Regions from separate parts of the Homo sapiens genome. Here region 2 is linked to region 1. Evidence: promoter capture Hi-C in human tissues and cell types (Jung and others, 2019). All regions are on one chromosome and are shown on one strand. Each heading gives the region's core, a stretch centred on a gene start or on the middle of the fragment in contact. The rest is flanking DNA. Distances are from core to core; before and after follow the strand shown. Region 1 holds the start of LOC124904422 (a long non-coding RNA gene). Region 2 holds the start of S100A2 (S100 calcium binding protein A2).

Region 1 (3,977 bases), core at 611-3,110:
ACTCGTGCAGCAGTTGGGGGAGCGGGACAGAGAGACAGAGAGAGAGTTCTGCAGCATTCACAAGAGGTTATTAGGACTCAGTTCTGCTGTGAGCCATCCACACTGGAGGATGAGAACACCCAGCTGCAGCCCAGAGCCTGTGGTCCCACTGTTAGGTTTTGAAGGGAAGGCAAGGGTTAAAGAAAGACACAGAGAGAGTCGGTGGCTCTATGGCAACACAGGTTTTACATCCAGCACAAGACCTGAGGAGGTGGGGGACAAGCTTAATGCCAGAGCCCCCTGCCGCTTACAGGCTGGCGTAATTTATAGGTCTAGGTGGGGGTCTGGGCAGTATGGCTAGCTCGCCGGGAGGATATTGATAAGATGTTCCTGTGATCAGGCGGTTTGGACCTTTTTCCAGCGGGATGTGATAGGCTGTTTCTTGGACCTTTGCCCCGCAGGATATGATGGGGATGTTCCTTCAGTTGCGCCTTTGCCCAGCAGGGTATGATAAGGATGCTCTTGTGCCTTGCGGTCAGGTGGTTAGGCAGGATGTTTCTCACGGCCTGAATCCACATGGAATGTTTCACTCTGACCAGGGTCCGCAAAATGGCAGGGGGCTTACAAAATGGTGCAGTTTGGACTAACACCCACCATCCTGTCGAATGGGTTTGCTGGGAGGATTTACTGTCAATTCTGTTAGCCTGATAAGGGAGGTTGCTTTCTCGGAGGCCGCATACACAGACAGTGCTGGGAAGTGACCCATGCGTACCCTGAGAAATGTATCTGTTCAACCAAATTTCAAGTTGGCAATGATCATTCTTCGTCTCGCCCAATTTCAAGAGGAGGCTGGGCCCTGTAGGTTAAAACTGGAAAGCTGGAGAAAGCAGTGGAGGTCACTCCAGGAAGACTCCCTGGCCAAAGAGGACTGTAGGATTCTGACTTACAGTCAGGGCTGTTTCCGTTACAGTTGGCCCCAGTCAGAGACCCAGGATGAAACTCTGGCCCTGAGCGCGGAGAATAGGTTTTCTGTTTCCCAAGCTTCCACACGGTGGCGCCACCGAGCACCCACCTCGCCAGAGTTGCGAGGCGGTTCCACGTGGCTGGGCCGTCCTTGCCGGTTCTCGCCCTTATTTAGGTTGTGTGTCCCACTTCGGGCAGCAGTCTTGCAGCTTTTTAAAAAAGAGATCTTCACCAAAAGCTCCTGAAGGGCAGAGGGCTTTTCTTATTTAATTTGCATTCTTCTCTCTGCAATGCCTACCAGAGGGCGCTGCACAAAATCATGTATTGGGGATGCAATTGTTAATCGAGTTGGTAGAAACAGGAATAAATTAAAATAATTAAATTTTTAGTAATGGTGGGTTACGTAAATCTTGATGCCTATACACATGGAATCCCTGTGATGATACGAAATGGACATTTGGTCTTTGTCCCTGTTCCTGACACCAAGCGTCTGAAATCCTTGGAATCTCCCGAATGACAGGGGAGAGGGAGCATCTTTTGTTATTCATAACAACCCCCTTCCTGCCATACTGAGTGTGTGCTAATGAGGTGACTCTTGGTGGACCCCTAAATAGCTTCAGGATGGGGCTGGTTGCCAGAGGAAGCAACCATGTGATTACAGGGCTGGAGCTTTCAGCCCCAGGCTGGGCCTCCAGGGAGCGGCTGGGGAAGGACTTCAATCACCAGTGGCCAATTATTTAATCAACCATGCCTAAATGAAGTGACTGCCATAGAAACCCCAAACGATGGGGCTCAGAGAGCTGTCGGGCTGCTGAGTGGGTGGGGTGCCAGAAGGGTGGGCGCCTGGGGTGGGCCTTGAAGCTCCGTGCTGCCCCTCATACATGGCCCTGCGTGTCTCTTCCACGTGGCTTTTCCTGAGTTGCATTCTTTGTAGTAAACCAGTAATCATGAGTAAAGTGCCTCCCTGAGTCCCGTGAACTCTTGTAGCAGATTATCTAACCTGAGGAGGGGATTTGTAGGAACCTCCAATTTTAGCCAGTTAGTCAGAAGTATGGGCGGTCAGGTGCTGCGACTGGCATCTGAAGTGGGGGCAGTGTTGTGGGGCTGAGCCTTCACCTTGTGGGGTCTGTGCTAACTCTGGGTAGTTAGGATCAGAACGGAATTGCATGATACCCCGACAGTGTTCAGACAGTTGGAGAATTGGTTGGTGTGGGGATTTTTAAAAAAGGAAATATAACCCCCACACATTTGGCATCAGAAGTGTTGTGAGTCAGAATGGTTCAGGAATTCCATACAATGTAGCTATCTAGAATCAAGCACTCAGAAAATATTTAAGAACTGGGGAAATGTTTTAAAAATAGTCCTAATTGAAAAAGCAGATGATAAAGCAGCCGGGAAAAGGCAAAGCCGTGCCACAGGGTGGACGTGGAGTGGGGGTGGGGAGGGGGTTAATGTGACATGATTGCTCCACATGAGACAAGGCCACAGAACTCAGGAAACAAAGCTTGTTTTGAGCAAGAGTCCTGTCAGATTTTGACAGGAGGCAGAGCAGAGAGAAGATATCTTTACATAGGTGAAGCTAACAGTTCATGATAAAGTGTTCTCAGCCTTCACATTCACAGTCAACAGATTTTCAACAAGCCCGCCAAGCCAATTCAATGGAGAAAGAATAGTCTTTCCAACAAATGATGCTGGGACAAGTGGACAGCCACATGCAAAATAATGAAGCTGGACCCCTTCCTTCCTTCATACGCACAAATTAACTCAGAATAGGTCACAGCCCTACACATAAGAGCTAAAACAAACTCTTAGAAGAAAATATAGAAGTAAATCTTCAAGACTGAGGTCTTGAATATCTTTGCATATGCTACTGAGGCTTTATGACTTTACTTTCCACAGTTAGACCTACAATCCACTTGGAATTGTCATTTTGTCTGCTTGTGTGGTCTAGTTTCATGAGCATGAGCATCCAGTTGATCCAGTAAAATGTATTGAGAAGCTTGTGCTCAGCAGTGCCACTTTTGTCACAGAATAAATATACCATACGTGTGTGTCTTTTTCTCAGGCCTCTATTTAGTTCTGTTGATCTATGTGACTGTCATTGAACCAGCCCAGCAGTATCTGTTACCAGGGCTATTGTGATAAATCTTAACATCTAGTACTGTAGATCCTCCCATCTTTTTCATAATTGTCTTGGGTATTATTGGCCTTTCCATATGTTTTTTAGAGTTAACTTGTCAATTTCTACAAAAATTCCAGCAAGGACTTTGGGATTGGGATTGCACTGAATCTACAGGTTGTGTTTGGGAGAACTGACAGCTTTACAATAGCAGAGTGTTCCAGTCCATGAACGTGGTATATCCCTTACTAAAAACCTTTCAGTCGTTTCCCATCCTGCTTAAAGTTCAAATTTTGCGAAGTCCTCATTGGCTTGTCCTCTGCCTGCCGCTCAGACCTCATTTCCTGTCTCTCTGAACTCCATTTACACCACTCCAGCCCTTCTTTCTGCCCCTCCGTCAGCCCAGGCTGGCTCCTACCTGAGCACTTCTGTTCCAGCTCTTTCCTCTAACCATCGAGCCCTTCTCCTGCTCTCCCCAAGGTTGGATCCCCTGTTATTTATTCTGAGCCAAATATAAGTGACCGTGGCCCATGACACAGGCCGAGGAGGGTGGATCACCTGAGGTCAGGAGTTGGAGACCAGCCTGGCCAACATGGCAAAACCCCATCTCTTCTAAAAATACAAAAATTAGCCAGGTGTGGTGGTGGGTGCCTGTATTCCCAGCTACTCGGGAGGCTGAAGCAGGAGAATCACTTGAACCCAGGAGGCAGAGGTTACAGTGAGCTGAGATCGCACCACTGCACTCCAGCCAGGGAGATAGAGCGAGACTCGGTCTCAAAAAAAAAAAAGAAAGAAAGAAAGATTTAAAAGGTCTGTAAAGAAGAAAGTATGAATAAGCTAGTGAGAACTGGCAAAAATCCCAAAAGGAGCCTCAATATTTAATCAGTATAACCTGATTCATTGTATTGAGTACTAT
Region 2 (3,977 bases), core at 566-3,065, 99 kb after region 1:
CTCAGACTGTGGTTCCCTGAGGCCGGAGGCGATACCTCCATCTCACCCTGAGGGCAGACGCTAAAGCTTCCCTTGTGTCTGGGAGTCACCAAGCCTCCTCTGATGGCACTTGGGACACCCCCCTGAGGGCAGGGCTCCCCATTTTAGTGTCTGCCAGAAGGGAAATGACAGGGTGACCAGAGTCCCATTTTGATGGCATCTGCGCAGGCTCTGGGGAGCAGGGCCACATGCACCGGCTGGCAGATGGGGGCTCCTGTGCAGTCTGGCAGGAGCCATGGCTACAGCCTAGGAGCAGGAAGCTCCCTGAAGGAGTCGTTTCCCTCCTTAGACTCGGGACTCCTGAAGCCAGAGGCATCTCTCTCTGCCATCTAACTGGAAGCTCCCTTGGGCAGGAGTGTTTCCTCTCTCAGACTAGGAGCTCCCAGAGGGTGGGGAATGTGTCTCCCCTCACCCTGAAGGCCCCTGAGCCTCTAGGCAGACAGGGGCATGGATAGGGTGGGGGCAACTTAACATTCTCTCCACCAGGAAGGATCCTGTTGGAATTAGAATTAAAGATATGAAATGTTCATTGCCTTGGGATCAGGATGGGACAGACCTCAGCGGCAAGGCCTCTGAGAATACTCAGACCAGCCTGGAAAGGTTAGGCAGGTTTCAGGGTGAGGCCAGAGGAGCTATGCCAGAGGCAGGGCATGCCCTGGGCCCATCATGCCAGCCCTGCCTTCACCGAGGCAGGGGGCAGAGCTTTGCTGCTTGGGGCCATGACCCAGGCAGAGTCTTGAGACCCCTGCCTCTTGCACCTTAGTCCTGCTAGAATCCAGGACTTTGCAAAAAAAAAAAAAAATCTCAGGATTCTTTTTGCAGCAACGCCCACATGCACACCTCCTGCTCCTAGGCCTAGACCCCCAAAGAAGGGCCCCTAGACTGAGATATCCAGGGGAGGGCCTCAGAGCAACCCCTGCACTGAGACCTCACAGAGGAACCTGGAGAAAAACCCTTCAGTCGGCCGGGCGCGGTGGCTTACTCCTGTAATCCCAGCACTTTGGGAGGCCGAGATGGGTGGATCACGAGATCAGGAGATCGAGACCATCCTGGCTAACATGGTGAAACCCCATCTCTACTAAAAATACAAAAAAATTAGCCGGGCATGGTGGTGGGCGCCTGCAGTCCCAGCTACTCGGGAGGCTGAGGCAGGAGAATGGCGTGAACCTGGGAGGGGGAGTTTGCAGTGAGCTGAGATCACACCACTGTACTCCAGCCTGGGCGACAGAGCGAGACTCCATCTCAAAAAAAAAAAAAAAAAAAAAAAACCCTTCAGTCAACACTTCAGCACTTCACAGAGAGTTCTTCCAAGGGGGAAGGCCCAGAGAGGCCCAGGTTGATCCCACCAGGGAAGCTGGAATGAGAGAACTGTGGAGACAAAGACAGAGACCCACGGGGATCCTCCCCACCCTGCCCTCAGCAGGACAGAGGTACTCACCAGACCAGGTGGCAGAGACAGACCCAGGAAGGAGAGCAAGGCAGCCAGGCTCCCAGGGTGAGGATTTATATGTGGGCCCCACTGGCCCCCAACTTGGCATTTTAAGGAAACCAAACCTGCCTCAACCTGATCCCACCAAACCCTGGCCTCTTGCCATTCCCACTCATTCCCTCCCAGCCCCCTCCCTCCCAGAGAGTGCCAGCTCCACCACCAGCTGGGGGAGGGCTCTAGGCCAGGTCAAGGGCAGCCCCTGAGCCCACCCAGGCCACAGTGGGAAGTGGGAGGTGTCGTGGGGACTGGGCATCCTGGACCGGGGTGAGGGGAGGCAACCCCTGCTCTGGGGCCTGGAGACTGGTGCCAGGCCTCATTCTCATGACATGCCTGTGAGTCACAGCCCACTCCTGTGTGAGAGGCTGTGAGCACACGCTGAGACTTCATGGTCCAGTGCTCGTGTACATACATGCGCCCGTGTGTGTGAGAGAGAAGCAACCTGGGGCCACCCTTAGGAAGCTGGGGGCCAGAGGAGGCAGCTGGGGGACATCAGGAGGAGAAGGACAGGACTGACTTCAGGGCATGGATGAAGTGGAGTGACTTTTAATGGCCAGCACCAGAATACCTCTTAATGAGGTAATGAGGTAACTAAGTGTGCTTAGAAATACCTGGGAAGGTCCCTCTGTGTAGGAAGGTGTCTGGAAGGATGGGGAAGCAGTGAGAAATGGGGTTGCTCTACACACAGCCGCAGTTGGGCTGGGCCACAGTCTGTGGGGAGCATAAGGAAGTCCCGAGTAGTTAAAGGCTGAACAGGAAAACTTTGGCCTCCTCTTCTCCAGCTTGAGGGCTGGGTGGGTGGGTAGGGGTACATCCCTACCCAAGGCTGAAAACACCAGCTGGACAGCTTCCCAAGCCAGAATCCAGGCCTGAAGCACAGCCCTCAGCCACAGCCCTCTCTCACTGCCCCCCACACACATGTCCTCCCCAGACCCGGAGAAAGGCAAACACTGTGGCCATTCAGAGCCCAGCCCAAGGGAGGGCTGCCCCCTCCCAGGGCCCCTTCCTCCTTGGCCCTTTGTCTATCCCGGCCCGTCTGGGCATCAGGGCACCGCCCTTCCTGTGGCCCCAGCTCCCCTCCCTGCTCCAGCTGTCGAGTAGCTTCTTCCCCTCCCCCAGCCCCTCTACCTCAGCCCTAAGTGACTCACCCGAGGTTCCAGGCCCAGATGCCCAGGCAGTGACTCAGCGGCACACCCTCCTCCCCCAGGGCCAGGGCAGCAGCAGTCCCAGAGCAGTAGGTGGAAGCCCCAGCCCAGCCTGGCAGGGAAAGCACTGGCACAGAGACCCCAAACAGGCCCTGCCAGGAGGAGCTTTGGATAATGACATGGCAGGAGGATCAGACTGAGAACAGGCTGGTCCCTTCCTAGCGGTCACCGTGTGACTTGGGGGCCAGCCTGAGCAGTGTACATGAAGTCAGGCCTTGGGGCCCCCAGTGTCCTCTTCTACACCTTGGCACAGCCACCGAGTGTCCCTTGCTCCCCTCAGTACTTGAACCCCTCATGCTACTTGTCTTCCCATCGAGGCCTACTTCAAGTAGAACTCGGAATAAAAACCCTTCACACTGAGGGTGAGGGACAAGGGAGCGCAATGCATCGATTTTCACAGCCATTCTTTCCTTTTAACTAAGGGCCTCCACAGGGCCTTCCCTGCTCAGAAACTGCAGTGCATCCCCATGGCTGTCCCTTAAAGCCAGGCGGTATGTTCTCACTCATAAGTGGGAGTTGAACAATGAGAACATATGGACACAGGGAAGGGAACACCACATACCAGGGCCTGTGGGCAGTTGCGGGGAGAAGGATGGGGGCAAGGGGAGGGAGAGCATTAGGACTAATACCTGATGCATGCGGGGCTTAAAACCTAGATGATGGGTTGATAGGTGCAGCAAACCACCATGGCACATGTATACCTATGTAACAAACCACATTCTGCACATGTATGCCAGAACTTAAAGTAAAAATAAAATAAAATTAAATTAAAATTAAAAATTTTTAAAAAGCCTGGCAGTGAGGCGCTCCAGACTCGGCCTGCTGCTGCGTGTCCCTTAAACACACCGGCACATGCAACTAGTGTGGCCAAGACCCTCGGCTTGCGCTGACCCCTCTGTTCAGAACGTGCCCACACATGCCCATGCCCTCTATCCTGCTGAAATCCAACCCCCCCTTCAAAGGCCACTGCAGGGAGCCTTCCCAGGGCCCAACCGGATTCAGTGTCTACCTGTTCTGTCCTGTACAAAGCGCCCCTTTTGCCCTTTTCGTGTGTACTTAGAGAATTCTGATTTTGACTGAATCACCTGTGTACTTGTTTTCTCTCAGCCTCACCCCCACATGGTGAGCTCACCGGTCTTACTCATTTCTGCATGAGGTAAGGGTCTCGCCCACACCAGGTGCCAACCAGTGCTTACGGCTACCACATGGCAACAGGGGTCACTGGAGGAGTGCTTAGGAGCAAGGGA

The links. The method cuts DNA at HindIII sites, captures the fragments that hold promoters and counts their contacts. A contact is called where the count stands out against the background at its distance.
Region 2: the fragment with the promoter of S100A2 here is called in contact with a fragment that was not itself captured in region 1 in 4 of the 25 tissues and cell types used here (liver, mesendoderm cells, pancreas and 1 more).

What each region holds. Positions count from the first base shown.
Region 1 is chr1:153,464,888-153,468,864 of GRCh38, forward strand. LOC124904422 (a long non-coding RNA gene) reads right to left here and starts at 1,223. Exons shown (of 2, transcript XR_007066629.1): 1 at 1,052-1,223. The HindIII fragment of the contact is 3,611 bases long and covers 56-3,666 here.
Region 2 is chr1:153,564,029-153,568,005 of GRCh38, forward strand. S100A2 (S100 calcium binding protein A2) reads right to left here and starts at 1,816. Exons shown (of 3, transcript NM_005978.4): 1 at 1,478-1,816. RefSeq lists enhancers at 173-930, 931-1,688, 1,808-1,867, 1,841-3,040, 2,738-2,977 and 1 more. The HindIII fragment of the contact is 11,510 bases long and covers 1-3,977 here.